Regions from separate parts of the Homo sapiens genome. Here regions 1, 2, 3 and 4 are each linked to region 5. Evidence: promoter capture Hi-C in 16 types of primary human blood cells and fetal thymus (Javierre and others, 2016). All regions are on one chromosome and are shown on one strand. Each heading gives the region's core, a stretch centred on a gene start or on the middle of the fragment in contact. The rest is flanking DNA. Distances are from core to core; before and after follow the strand shown. Region 1 overlaps LINC03147 (long intergenic non-protein coding RNA 3147). Region 2 has its middle 46 kb from the start of LINC01549. Region 3 overlaps LOC124900465 (a long non-coding RNA gene). Region 4 overlaps LINC03147 (long intergenic non-protein coding RNA 3147). Region 5 holds the start of BTG3 (BTG anti-proliferation factor 3).

What was found. Contacts are between HindIII fragments. The CHiCAGO score rates a contact against its expected background, and 5 or more counts as called.
Region 1: a contact is called between a fragment that was not itself captured here and the fragment with the promoter of BTG3 in region 5, in 1 of 17 cell types (activated CD4 T cells). The highest score is 6.2, in activated CD4 T cells.
Region 2: a fragment that was not itself captured here is called in contact with the fragment with the promoter of BTG3 in region 5 in 9 of 17 cell types (monocytes, total CD4 T cells, M1 macrophages and 6 more); the score reaches 7.3 in monocytes.
Region 3: a fragment that was not itself captured here is called in contact with the fragment with the promoter of BTG3 in region 5 in 1 of 17 cell types (activated CD4 T cells); the score reaches 6.8 in activated CD4 T cells.
Region 4: a contact is called between a fragment that was not itself captured here and the fragment with the promoter of BTG3 in region 5, in 5 of 17 cell types (activated CD4 T cells, total CD4 T cells, total CD8 T cells and 2 more). The highest score is 8.5, in activated CD4 T cells.

The regions. Positions count from the first base shown.
Region 1 is chr21:17,853,843-17,856,542 of GRCh38, forward strand. All of the region lies in intron 1 of LINC03147 (long intergenic non-protein coding RNA 3147), which reads right to left. The region is part of intron 2 of LOC124900465 (a long non-coding RNA gene); the gene reads left to right. Among named protein-coding and RNA genes, the nearest start is that of LINC03147, 30 kb to the right of the region's middle. The HindIII fragment of the contact is 5,733 bases long and covers 1-2,700 here.
Region 2 is chr21:17,391,111-17,393,810 of GRCh38, forward strand. No RefSeq gene overlaps it. Among named protein-coding and RNA genes, the nearest start is that of LINC01549, 46 kb to the right of the region's middle. The HindIII fragment of the contact is 2,346 bases long and covers 257-2,602 here.
Region 3 is chr21:17,765,903-17,768,602 of GRCh38, forward strand. The region is part of intron 2 of LOC124900465 (a long non-coding RNA gene); the gene reads left to right. Among named protein-coding and RNA genes, the nearest start is that of C21orf91-OT1, 25 kb to the right of the region's middle. The HindIII fragment of the contact is 1,318 bases long and covers 754-2,071 here.
Region 4 is chr21:17,833,619-17,836,318 of GRCh38, forward strand. It overlaps LINC03147 (long intergenic non-protein coding RNA 3147), which reads right to left. Exons shown (of 3, transcript NR_024354.1): 3 at 2,054-2,208. All of the region lies in intron 2 of LOC124900465 (a long non-coding RNA gene), which reads left to right. Among named protein-coding and RNA genes, the nearest start is that of C21orf91, 16 kb to the left of the region's middle. The HindIII fragment of the contact is 2,429 bases long and covers 187-2,615 here.
Region 5 is chr21:17,611,634-17,614,333 of GRCh38, forward strand. It overlaps BTG3 (BTG anti-proliferation factor 3), which reads right to left and starts at 1,268. Exons shown (of 5, transcript NM_006806.5): 1 at 1,066-1,268. BTG3-AS1 (BTG3 antisense RNA 1) reads left to right here and starts at 53. Exons shown (of 1, transcript NR_149073.1): 1 at 53-2,481. It also overlaps a transcript of CXADR not described here. The HindIII fragment of the contact is 7,083 bases long and covers 1-2,048 here.

The DNA.
Region 1 (2,700 bases), core at 18-2,517, 240 kb after region 5:
CTCTCTTCTTGTAACATCATGTTTTCTCTATTGCTTCATCATTTCCATGAGCTTATAAATGCTATTATTTTTCCTATCTTAAGAGAGAAGACAATTTTCCAGACTCTTTATTCCCCTGCAGTTACTGGATCACTTCTCTGCTCCTGTAAAAGGCAACTCTTCTCAATAGTTATATCTACTTGATATCTGCAATTTGCTTGTCTCTCATTTTCTAATCAGGCATTCATTCTCGTGCCTCTTACAAAACAGCTCTTGTCAAATTGCTATTGACTTTCACATAGCTAAAACCAGCGATGGTTGTTAGTTTTCATCTTACTTGAACTGTTGGCAGCATTTGACAGAGGTGATCTCTGTCAAGGTCTTGCTTTACTGGCCCCCTCCTTTTAAGGCTTATTTGCTTGTCCTTTTATCTATTTCTAACCTCTAACCATTGGTGTGCCCTGAACAATGTCTCAGGTCTCTTCTATTTATTTTCTACACTCACTTTCTAGGTGATGTCAGCTAGTACAATGGTTTTAAATACTATCCATATATTAAGGACTCTCAAATTGATTTCTTATGCCCAGACCTCTCTCCTGAACTTCAAATTTACATACTCAAACTCCTATTCAGAATTTCATCTTGGATGTTTAATAAGTATCACAAATCTCTAAATAGTCAATGGCCCTAGGACTCAAATCTTAGAACTTTCCTCTTTAAAATGATATTATTGAGATGTAATTCACATGGCATACAAATCAACCATTTGAATTGTACAATTCAAGGGCTTTTAGTGCATTTCAGAGTTATTCAACCATTACCATAATCAATTTTAGAACATTCTCATTATCCCCCTTAAACCCATCTTGGACATTTCATATATATGTAATCATATAATATGTGGTCTTTTGTGTAAAGACTTTAGAGTGTTCTAATTTGTTTTATGCAATTTTTTTTTTTTGCAAATTTGACTGCATGAAAGTGCATTATCACAATGTTGACCTTGTGTGTGAGACATTGCACATGTACATAAAAACATTGAAACTTCCTCAATAAATGAAGGGATGTCCTTTTTGTACATCTGCATTTGTGAAAGATAAAACTTCTTGAGATCTCAACTCTCTAGGCGATTACATATGTAGTGGTGACACATTGTGGTTTCTTATCGATCTCATCAAAAGACATAGGTCATCTGTCATGGTATTTCAGATGACCACAGTTATAAAACTGGATGCACACAATTACCAACCATAGTGATATGCGTTTATACATTTTCTTTTGGACCTATTTATGAATATGGTTCATCTGCTTATAACTGTTATACCCATGTTTCTGTTGTTAGTATATCTGAGTTCTTATGCTTATAAAAATGTTATTGTTGCCTATTTTATTGTATAAAGTGGCAACTTTATACAACTTTATCATGTATTTTATTGTATACTATGAAGTATTCTGTCATGTTTTTATATGTTGCTCAAATAAATCTTTTTTACAAGCATAAATAATTTTCTTTTAAAGAAAATTAAATTTTTTTCCAGAATTATATTTTTAGAATTTTCAATTTTTAAGATTGTGATTTCTGATATTATGGTGTTTAGAATTATGTCTTTTGGTATTATGGCCCAACTCTAGTTTTTGTGACTGGCTTCTTTTGTTTAACGTGTTTTCAAGGTTCATCCACATTGTAGTATGTACAAGTACTTCATTCCTTTTAATTACCAAATAATATTCTATTGAACAGCTATACCATACTTTATCCATTCACCAGTTGATGATAATTTGGATTGTTTCCATCTTTTAGCTACTGTGAATTCTTCTTCTGTAAACATTCATGCACAAGATTTTGTGTGGACACATGTTTTCACTTGTCCTGGATATATACCTAGGAGGGGAATTGCCAAATCATATGGTAACTCTGTGTATAGAGGAATTGCCAGACTATTTTCCAAAGTGGCTTGGAATTCTTCTATTGGTGCTCACTGCATTGGTGCATGGCATCTAGGCCATGGTTTTAAATATCATCTCTATACTGAAGTCTCACAAACTTGCCTCTGAACTCGAGATCCACATGACCCATTCATTGCCCACCCACATATCCATCACCTAACTCCTGACTTTCCCCTTCACCTCACACCCCTGACCTCAAGCCTGCTTCTCCTCTTATCTTCTTCTCAATTAATGGATTCCCTTCTTCCAGTTGCTCAGGACAAAAACCTCAGAGTTGCTCTTGACTCCTCTCATTCTATCCCATCCCATATCTAATCTGTCAGCAAATCCTGTTTGCTCTACTTTCAAAATACTGTCCCCACTCCCTGTCTGCAGTAGCTCCTCTGCTACCACCCTCATCCAAATCACTCTCACTTCTTTATCACATTGTTGCAACAGCCTCCTAACTTGCCTTCCAGCTCCAGCTTGATTACCCTTCAGTCTATTCTCAACAGAGTATTCTGGATGAACTTTAAATAACTCTAATTGCTTTCCATTTGAGACTATGGCATTGGGGATCGTGTCTTTCGGGATTATTATTGGCTCTGACATGCGCACGCAGGTTGAAAGTGCCAGGAAGTTAACATTCCCAGGATTAACCTTCCCTCTATTATCTTCATCCTCAGGGTAGCACAACACTGAAGTGTCTTGTAAACAGTGTCCCAAAGGTCCCAGAGGGACCAAACCCCAGTTGCTCTCTTCATTAATGCATCTTTGAATGGATTTTCTTTCCTG
Region 2 (2,700 bases), core at 180-2,679, 220 kb before region 5:
ATCACGAGCTCAAGTGATCGAGACCATCCTGGCCAACACGGTGAAACCCCATCTCTACTAAAAATACAAAAAAACTAGCTGGGTGTGGTGGGGCGTGCCTGTAGTCCCAGCTACTCAGGAGGCTGAGGCATGAGAATCCCTTGAGCCGATGAGGCAGAGGTTGCAGTGAGCCGAGATCGTGCCACTGCACTCCAACCTGGTGACAGAGCGAGACTCCATCTCAAAAAAATAAAATTGAATTAAAATAAAGAGTAAAAGCTTCATATTCCATGTAATGACCATCACAGTGTTTCTCGGGAGCAGACACAGGACAGGTATCCTTCACAGGAATATTACGGAAACTATGCTATGCTTTTCCCACTGTATCTCATCAGGATGTACAAACTTAGCAAAGAAAACACACACACACACACACACACACACACACACACACACACACACAAAATATTAAGCCTGAGAAGTATAAGTACAAGGAAAGTACAAGAAAGGAAATGAAGCCAGAGTTTACTACGATAAAGAACTGGGAATGGTCTGAGACTTCATCTTATTTGCAAGCCAACAAGTTAGCCTGCCATAGTTTCATGGATGCTGGGGAAAGACCTGAGACTCCCAGGTCAGAGGCAAAGGATTTTATTACTCACAAAACAGTAAGCAATATGAGCTTTATGGTCACTCTGGTTCCCCTTGCCCTCCAGTTCCCATGGTGGTGACAAAGAGTATCCAAGGCAGATGCTGCATATGCAGTGGGTTTGTATCACAGCTAAAAAACCCTGAGCTTGGGGAACCTCAGTCTTTTATAATGGGTTGAAAGCAAACCTACATGACTTTTGGCCCCGTGGAAGACATTATCTTTACCATACTGGATAGCAAACACACCTGTCATCTGCTCTGGAGGGAGATGCTGTCTCTATAGTCCAAGGCTATTCACTATATTTATATCCTGGAAATCGCAGTCTGGAACAAAACCTGTCACTACCTGTGCCCTTAAAATGTGCAGAAATATAAATGACCCATGAAGAATTGTTGTCCAACCACTGCGTGACTCATCTCTGAAAATAATTACACATAAAACAATAAGGTAAACTCTAGATGTTGACTTACCCAAAAAATTGTGACTAAATATATTGGCAAAGGGGAGAAATGGGAGGAGTATGTTGGGGAAGGTAGACAGGCATAAAACATAATAAATTTTATATTCTATACTAGGAAATAAATAGATGACATCTAAAACAGAAAATCAAAAAATAGAAGTAAAAGTGTATTACTTTTAAAATGTAGGAAAATAAATAAAAGTGTTAAGTGTGGTATTGCCTCTTAGGTATAGTTTTGTTTTCATGAAATGGGAAAGGTGGAACAAGCAAGCCCTTTTTTTCAGCATAAGCTATTTGACCTTTTTAACTATACACAAGATTATCTTCATAAAAATTAAAATACAAAGCCAGGCATGGTGGTGCACACCTGTAGTCCCAGCTACTTGGCAGGCTGAGGCAGGAGGATCACTTGATCCCAGGAGTTCAAGACCAACCTAGACAACATAGAAGGCCCCTTCTCTAAAGTAAAATAAAATAAGCCTGGGCATGGTGGCTCACACCTGTAATCCCAGCACTTTGGGAGGCCAAGGCAGAAGGATTGCTTGAGCCCAGGAGTTCAAGACCAGCCTGGGCAACACAGTGAGACCCTGTCTCTACAAAAAAAAATTTTTAAAGGCCAGGCATGGTGACTCACGCCTGTAATCCCACCACTTTGGGAGGTCAAGGCCGGCAGATCACTTCAGGTCAAGAGTTCGAGACCAGCCTGGCCAACATGGTGAAACCCCGTCTCTACTAAAAATACAAAAATTAGCCAGGTGTGGTCGTGCACACCTATAATCCCAGCTACTCAGAAGACTGGGGCAGGAGAATCACTTGAACCAGGAGGCAGAGGTTGCAGTGAGCTGAGATCACTCCACTTGCACTCCAGCCTGGGTGACAGAGCAAGATCCTGTCTCAAGATCCTTTTAAGGCTCCATCTCAAAAAAAAAAAAAAAAAAAAAATTAGCCAGGCATGGTAGCACCCTTCTGTAATCCCAGCTACTCAGGGGGCTGAAATGGGAGGAACGCTTGATCCCAGGAGGTAGAGACTGCAGTGAGCCATGATCGCACCACTGCACTCCAACCTGGATGACAGGGCAAGATGCTGTCTCGAAAAAATAAAATAAAAGATAAAATAAAAAATGTAATTTAATTTAGAGAGAGAGGGAAATAGAAAGAGCTCCTGGAGCACAATAGTTTTATTATAATCATTAGATTATGGCTTGAGGAAATCTGCCCCAAACATCTCTAAAGAACTAATAAGGATATAGGCACCTCAGTGTTTGAAAAGGTAGCTTTTAAAGGCATAAAGCCAGTTGCCTTATCTTAAGGAACAGACATTCACTGTCAGACTATAGGACAACACCCTCAGCCCTGGTAGGTATGATTGGATTTCCACTCTAGCATTCACTGGGCACAATAGCTACGCGCTCTTCTCAAAGGATGTTGGAAGACACAAAATGACCTCATTGCTGGTATGGTGTCCGCAATAATATCTCCCAGCTGCTCTAGGCTGTATTCACAACAAAGGAAGCTTGACTTTGTGCAGCCCTCCAGGCTGTTAACTCTCAGGAGCCCATTCATCTACACAGACATATGGATAGGAACAACGTGGGGGTGGAGGTGGAAA
Region 3 (2,700 bases), core at 163-2,662, 150 kb after region 5:
GTTTAAGAAAGAATGACAAGGACAAGGACACTGACAACACCCCCATTTGTCCCAAAGCAATGAAGAGCACTTGACAAGCTCCAGGCTGCCCGAGAGCAGCAAGGCCCCCCTAGGTAGGGTACCAGAACTTGGAATCACTCTTGTTCTCTTCCTTTAGTGTGTCTTCTTCTTCAACTTCTCTTTAACTTTTCAAAAAATAAATTATATCGGCCGGGTGCGGTGGCCCACGCCTCTAATCCCAGCACTTTGGGAGGCCAAGGTGGGAGGATCACGAGGTCAGGAGATCAAGACCATCCTGGCTAACACGGTGAAACCCCATCTCTACTAAAAATACAAAAAATTTAGGCGGGCGTGGTGGCGGGTGCCTGTAGTCCCAGCTACTCAGGAGTCTGAGGCAGGAGAATGGTGTGAACCCGGGAGGCGGAGCTTGCAGTGAGCCGAGATCGCGCCACTGCACTCCAGCCTGGGCGACAGAGCGAGAGTCTGTCTCAAAAAAAAAAACAAAAAGAAAAGAAAAGAAAAAATAAATAAATTATATCTCTTATTTTTCTGTGGAAAATTTTTTTCTTGAAAAATTGTATTTATTTTAAAAAATAAAGGAATCCCTGGCTTCTGCATTAAGTGCTTAGTAGATGACAAGCTCCTCAGGGCCCAAGATCCACCTCATTCATCTTTGTGTCCTTGTTCACAGGACACAAAGTGGTACGCACATGTTGAAACACTGAATGGAATTGCTTTTTGCATTCGCTCAGAAGCTTCAAATTCTCTCCGCATTGTTGAGCACAGTGAGCGCAGGGTTATTGTTTAAATATTAAAAGAGAACACAGCTAATTTGAAGCACACATTTGGGTTCTGGACTATGGTTATGCCAGCTTCATTATGAAGTTTTTCATCACTTTTTGGCCTTTTGGCTAAGATTGAATGTATTATGTTGTTTTTCTTGTTAGGATAAAACCTTTTGCTGGATTATATATCCAGAAATTTTTTAAGGCTTTTGAGGAGATTTAATTTGATACACAGCTGCATGCTCTAGGTAAGTCAATTAACACGTCTGGATCTTATTTTCCTCATGCATTAATGTAACATCTAATTGAGCAATCCATGTACTGACACCCATTTACGAGTCAGGATCATAACACCCACTATTTTAGCTTGAACGGCTGTAACCAAGTACCATAGACTGGCGGGGCTTCTAAACAACAAATTTATGTCCCACGGTTCTGGAGGCTGGAAGTTGAGATCAGGGTGCCATCAAGGCGGCGTTCCAGCGAGGATGCTCTTCTGGGTTACAGACTGCCAACTTCTGGCTGTATCCTCACATGGCAGAAAGAGGAGAGAGCTCTCTGGGGTCATTTTTATAAGGGCACTATTCTTATTCATAAGGGCTCCACCCTCATGACCTAATCACCTCCCAAAGGCCCTACCTCCTAATACAACCATATCAAGGATTAGGATTTCAACATAAGAATTTTGGAGAGTGGGTCACAAACATTCAGTCCATTGCAATACATTGGCAAACGGTTCTTGTCGTCTTATCAACTAGTGCTCATGGACATGTAAAAAATAATAATGCAATTGCGGCACATAGCAAAAGAGCTCTGGGAAGAAGGGCTCTGGAACATAGAGGAGGAGCCCCTGCTCTCTGCCTGGGGAGCTGAGACAGATTCCACAAAGACGGTGCACCTGAAAAGCGAGTGTCTCCAGAAGTGGTGGATGGGCTCCCTGAAAACAGCTTCACACTGCTTCTTCTGAGCGTGTTGGTCAGAATGGAAGAATCTCTAATGTCCCCTCCAGACCTGGTGAATGAAAATACTGGGATTTAGGAGATGGCCTAAGAAATGTTTGGGAGCAGCACATGTTTCTATTTCTCTGCTTTTTTTTTTTTTCCTTACAGATGCTTGGTTGTCTCCCATTTCAAGACATGTCTGTTTTGACTGCATAGTTACATTTGTTGTGGTGAGCAGACTGCTCATTAATATTTTAATTAAGGAACACAATTTCTGTCCTCACTGTCCCCATATACTAGTTTCTGCTTTTTTTCCACTTTCTTTAAAGAAAAAATTCTTGGAAAAGCTTTGTTTTATAGAACTCTCTTGAGCAAGAGCAAATTTGTTTTCTCCGCAAAATTAAAGGTGAGCTATCTTGGAAACATATAGACCTTTCCATATCTCTGATTTCCTGAATTTCTAGTGAGATTCCCTTGTCTTCTGATGAAAATATTTGCTGGTAGTCATTTGTAATGCAAACAGCTTCCCTAACAATCTCTCTAGAGGGTGGAAGGGAATCTGTTTCTAAAGAAACCATGTGACATTGAGGACTTCTATGACTGTTACAATTTTAAGAAAATTTTAATTTGACCTTTTTTAAAGAAAAAAATTAGGTGTAAAGTTTAATCCTTCCAATTCTTCAGAGTCTGAGAACTTGTTAAAGAGGGAGGCTCCCTAAGATCTAGAATTCTTGAAATGAATGTCCATAACCTTGAACAACTTTTCTATGTTCTCAAAATCGCTACAACAGAACCCCTGAAGGACTTGAACTTCTGTGAACTTGAAAACAGCAAGTTCTTAGAACCTCAAGTTCTCTGTCTACCAAATTAAAACATTAATTCCCATCTCATGATGACATTGCTTCCATTTTATTCCCTCAATATTATTTTGAATATTAGGGAGTGGGTGGGTAGGTCTGGGAATATCACAGGGA
Region 4 (2,700 bases), core at 151-2,650, 220 kb after region 5:
GGGTTTCACAGTGTTTAGCCAGGATGGTCTCGATCTCGTGACCTCATGATCCGCCCTCTTCGGCCTCCCAAAGTGCTGGGATTACAGGCGTGAGCCACCACGCCCGGCCCCCATACTACTCCCTCTTAATAAACAGTTTCCACTGATAATATAAAGGGCTGGTATAAAAATGTCTTTAAATGAGTAAGCTTTCTTTGGTAAAATTAAATCATACAAATTATTTTTAAAACCTTCTGATATATACAATATTTAGCCCAGTTTTCTAATTTTCTGGATGTAAAACAAAAGGTTTAACATACATTCCTTGAGCTGTTAGTGCTATTGAAATCTTTTGTCCCATTTAAGTCCTAAACACTTTTGGTTGGTTGAGTAGCATGTGAGTTTTTTTGGGTCTCATAGCATGCTTTTTGGCTTAATTTCAGGTTTATATATATAAATAAAGGAATTAAGTAAAAATAAAATTTGAGTTACTTTTTGAAAGCACCTGAAATCTTGGATTGGAATACGTTGTCTATTTCAAGTCTAAAGCTGTGGTTTTCCCCTTCTGCTTTACCCTTCTTCAAATGTTGTTGTAATGTAATTCTTTCCTGAGCTTTCCCTGTTTCCTTAATAATGCATAGGATGGCAATAAAAATAGTTTTAAATCTCATCCCTCCATGAGAGGTTAGCTCCCCAAGTATAAGCTCCTTTTGTATTGTACTTGTAATTGCTCATTCAATGTTGGTATTGCCCGGTAGACTGTAAGTTTCCTGAGGGCCAAGAATGCTTTTGCCTCTTCCATTGCTGCTTCCCGAGTACCTTCTGTATATTTCATAACCAAATAATGAAAATGATATATTCCATTTAAAGGGTCAAAAAAAGTTTGGAAAGAAAGTTTATGTGGGAAGAAAAGGTAATATACTGTTTTCCCACAGACATAACAGGAGAATTAATTTATATGCATGTGGAAGCTGTTCAGGAGCTACTCTTAGTTTGCTTTATGTATTTAAAGTTTGTTTTAAGTATCTTTAAGTCTTAAGTATCCCTATTTTTTTCCTCTTTTCTAGAATGATTTTGGAATTTCCACTTTTTGTTCTTGTCTACTTTGTGATTACCAAGTTCTCTAATGGTATTTGACAGTTCCCTTTGTTTTGATTTGTGACATATGATGGATAAATATAGTTAACAGATATAGAGGGGAAATTGTCACATTTAATACATGTAAACCTGTGATTTTAAAAAGAGGAACTACTCATATATATGTCTGTGATGAAACAAAAAATAGATTATCTCATATCTAGAAATAAGAAAAGGTTATTAAAATTCAGAGGAAATAAAGCTAGCAACCCTGCCTATACCAAAGAATATTTTGATTTTCATAGTGCCTTTCGTCAACTAAAGAAAGAAACTGAGGCAAATTAACATAAGTCGAGAATTTATTTGGGCCAAATTTGGGGACTGCAACCAAGGAGACACAGATTCAAGTTGCCATGAATATATGCTTTGATTAGCAGTAGTTACAAGTTGGCTTTCAATACTCATGTCTCTCTGGATCTGATACATTTTGCATACCTCACATAGCTCAGACATCTCTGAGCTACTTTTCTTCTCATTTCCCCTTTTTGATTGAGATCTTCCTCTTCTGAAAGCATTGATAATCAACATTTTAAACGTAGCTTTTCCCCATATTGCTAGGAAGGCTCATTCCCGGGTAATCTCTCTCTACATTGGAGGGAAAGAGGAGAGGCACTACAGCTTAAGAATTTAGTGAAGTCTTAGGCTAAATTAACTGGCAACACAAAGGGGCAGAGGAATTGGGTCTCAGGATTTCATCCACTTACAAAGGAAGTATGGCGTGTTGAATAATTTCTATGCATCTAGCTATCATGAGTTTAGTTTCTGTCAACAAACACTTTAGATAGAGAAATGCAAAGCATAATTGATTTAAGAATCAAAAATATGACACAAATAAGGACAATTACTAATTAAACAATTTGAAATCCAAATGTGAGAAATATTCCAATACCTGAAGGTAACCAGTCAAATAAATCATATAAGGGGTCTGTCTTTCCAACCATGGGTCATCTTGTAGCCATTTAGCCTTTTGAGTGATCTTTTTAAACTGAGTTTCAATTTCTTGTCCTGGTCTGAAGAACCAGGTGACTGGCTGCAGGTCAGCTTCAGTTGGAGATCTCTGATGATGGAAGATGCCTACTCACGCAGGGCTACCTTTTTAAAATGAGAAATGTAAATCCATGAGTCAATGCCTTTGAGTTTAGCTGCACAAGTATTGATAAGTAATACTTGATATAGCTTCTTCCAACATGATTACAGGGAATCCAAAAATCTCAAAGTTGGAAGCCATGATATTTGATGTCATAAACTCCCAAGAGCTTGCTGTTAAAAGAATCCTCAATTAATTTAGAATTTTTAGTGAAATGCTTTTTAATGCCTTGGCAATAATGAAGACTATCATCTTTAAAGAGAGCTGGTTTATAGACTCCTTCATCCAGGCACATGGGGCTTCCTGGTATCATTTCAAAGGGAAAAAGCTGATGTTTTCCAATTGGGTAGAATGTAAGTTAAGCAATAACAATGGAAGAGCCTTAGGCCAGGGAAAGTTAAATGTTTCTATAAGCTTTGTCAATTTATTTTCTTATTATCCCATTTGTGTGTTCTACTAGTCTGGAAGATGGAGGGTAGTATGTCCAATGGAAATGC
Region 5 (2,700 bases), core at 18-2,517:
GTAAGTAGGCGTCCTCCACCCACACTCAGAGCAAAAGGCTCCCATTTTAAATATCGCACGGTGACGTCATCCTGGGACCTCGTCACCGCGGCGGCTGCTCCTCAAGTTCTACTTTGTTCCACAAGGCTCCTCTGCTCACGGCTGCGTGGATAAAACCCAAAGGGAATCCAGAATCAAGCTCGGCCTCGCAGGAGTTTATAACTTTTGTACTTTTCCCTCCCTTGTAACGAAAAGCTAATCGCAAACGTTTCTAGGAACACATTTTTCTCCTGATAGACGTTCCCAAGGTGGAGGGCGCGAGAAGACTGGCCCGTGGGGTGAGGAGCCCCGGCCCGACCTCAGCGGCGCCACAAAGCCATGAAGAGGGGAAATAATTTTCCAAGGGGCTAAGAGTTGGACTTTCTGAAGCCATCGAAACCTGCTGCTAGGCTCTCCCGCTGGGGTTTTGAGAGAGGTAGGTGAGGAGGGATCAAACATCTCCACCCGCTCTTGAAAGAACCGCCTTGAGCTGCGCCCAACTTCTGCAATCCCGGTTTTCCCCAAGTTCAAGGGGAAGGGCCCTGGCGCCCAATGCCCAGCCTCCCCGACAACATCCTCGCCAGGGTGCGCCTGCCCCGCGGGTCCGCTGTCCCCGGCGGGCGGCCCTGGGTTCGAGGACCCGGCTTCCCGGAGGCGCGACTCTCCAGCAAACAAGCGGAGCTCCAGAAAAAACACCGACGCGAAGGGGGTGGACAGAGGGTGGGAAGCCGCGGGGTTGTCGCCCACCCGGAGGCGGAATGTAACGCGCTGTGGGAAACGTGGCAGGAGCCCTGAGGCGGCGTCTTTTTCCTCAGGCGCCCGCCGAGGGTCCCGCGGAAAGCCTCGCGGGCCGCCCTCGCGGCCCGCAGCCCCGCTCTGGCGCCGAGCCGGAGCCCATGCAACCTGGTTCCATCCCCTGCCCCTCCCCTGTCCCCGGTGCGCCGCCCGCCAGCGAGCCTTCGACGTGGCCGCAGGGGCGACGGGACCACCCTCCCCCGATACCCACAGCCCCGCCATGTCTGCCTTTCCCCGGCCCGGTCTCCTCACCGCCGCTGCCGCCGCCGCTCTTCGGCCGGAGATTCGGCGGCCCAGACCGTGTCCTGGCCGGGAACTGAGGGCTCCGCCTCAACGGGCCCGCGCTGGGCAACAGGGAGCGCAGCGAGCCTCGTCCGGCGCGTGCGGCTCCCGCGTCGTCGGGCGGCCAAGCGCGCGTTGAGAGGACTGGCGGGCGGACGAGCGCGCACACGAGTGAGCGCAGCCCCAAAGCGGCGCGCAGGGGGCTCGCGGCCCGGAAGAGGGGAGGGGCGATGACCCGGGAAAGGGTTGGCGCGCGCGGGATCGGCTCGCGCGCCTGAGGGGCGGTGCCGGGGGCGGGGCTTCGCCGCGAGGCCACCCCCGAGCCCCGGGCCTAGCCGCACGGGAGGCGACACACCCTCGCCCTACCCTGAGCCTGGCGCAGACCCTCGACCGCGACGGCGCGGTCCGCAGAACCGCGGGCTTCCCTCCCCGGCAAAAAGCGGCGCTGAAGGCCTGTGGGACCCCCGCCCGGCCGCCCTACGTGCGTCAGCGCCTTCGGGGGTCGCGCGGGCTTGGTCCTTTCGGCTGTCTCGGCCTTTTTGTTTCCCCCTCAGGTCTCTCCACGCTGCACTTGACACCCTCAGGGCGGAATGGCGAGTTCTAGACCCAGCTCTCTAGACCCGGGGCTTCATGGGGGACACGGACTCGACGGGAAGGGGAACTTGGCATTTATGGACAGATCCTCATCCTTCTTGCTGTAGTCAATTACACGCACGTTAACCGTGCAGCCGCCCTGCTGTATTTTAGGCGGTTGTTGGCACTCCTAGTTGGGCCCTTCCCTGGCCCCTCACAGCAGGGCCTGCCTCCTGTGGACGCTTGTGTGCTGCCCTGGCACCGGCCACTGTGTTTTGCATAAAGGAGAGGCTCCAAAGATGTTGGCCAAAGGAATGAAGCCTTGAGAGTCCAGGCTTTCTATTTCTGAGACACTCTACTCAAGGACTTCCCAGATGCAAAGCTTCATCTTTGAGCAAATACAAATATGGAGAGGGAACATTAACTTTCTGAAGAAAAGAAGGAACATCTTTTCAACCTTTTATATTGAGTTAACACCATGGTCTTAGTTTTGTGAAAGCACTTTAATACATCCAACTAGCGGGAGGAATACAAGATATTCCTACCTTTTTATTATTATTATTAAAAGAGGGCTAAACCATGTTGTAAACTACTTAAGAACTGAATGTTCAAGTTGTACAGTATATTGGCCAGATTCCTTACTGCCCACTAGGCTTGGGAGCATGTTTTCAGCTCAGTTTTATGAATGTTTTAAATTTGTATTACTGATCTTTGTTATAGCCAATTAGCAATTCAAAATGGTAATTTTTTTAGCAGTAATAAATATACCATCCCCCAAACAGTACAATAAACTTTATTTGTAAAAAAAAAAAATTATACTCTTCTAGGACTTAGTCTACTTACTGGTACATTTAAAGAGGATATTTACACCTTGGAGTCTTCTAGGAGGTGTGAAGGTGTTTTTATTTTAAAATCATAACAATCTGATGAGGTTATTTTTACAGATAAAGGCCTTTAATTCTGCAGTTTCATAAAATAGCTAGGTAACCACCCACATTACTCAAAATTTGTCCAGAAATTTCTATAGTTTAG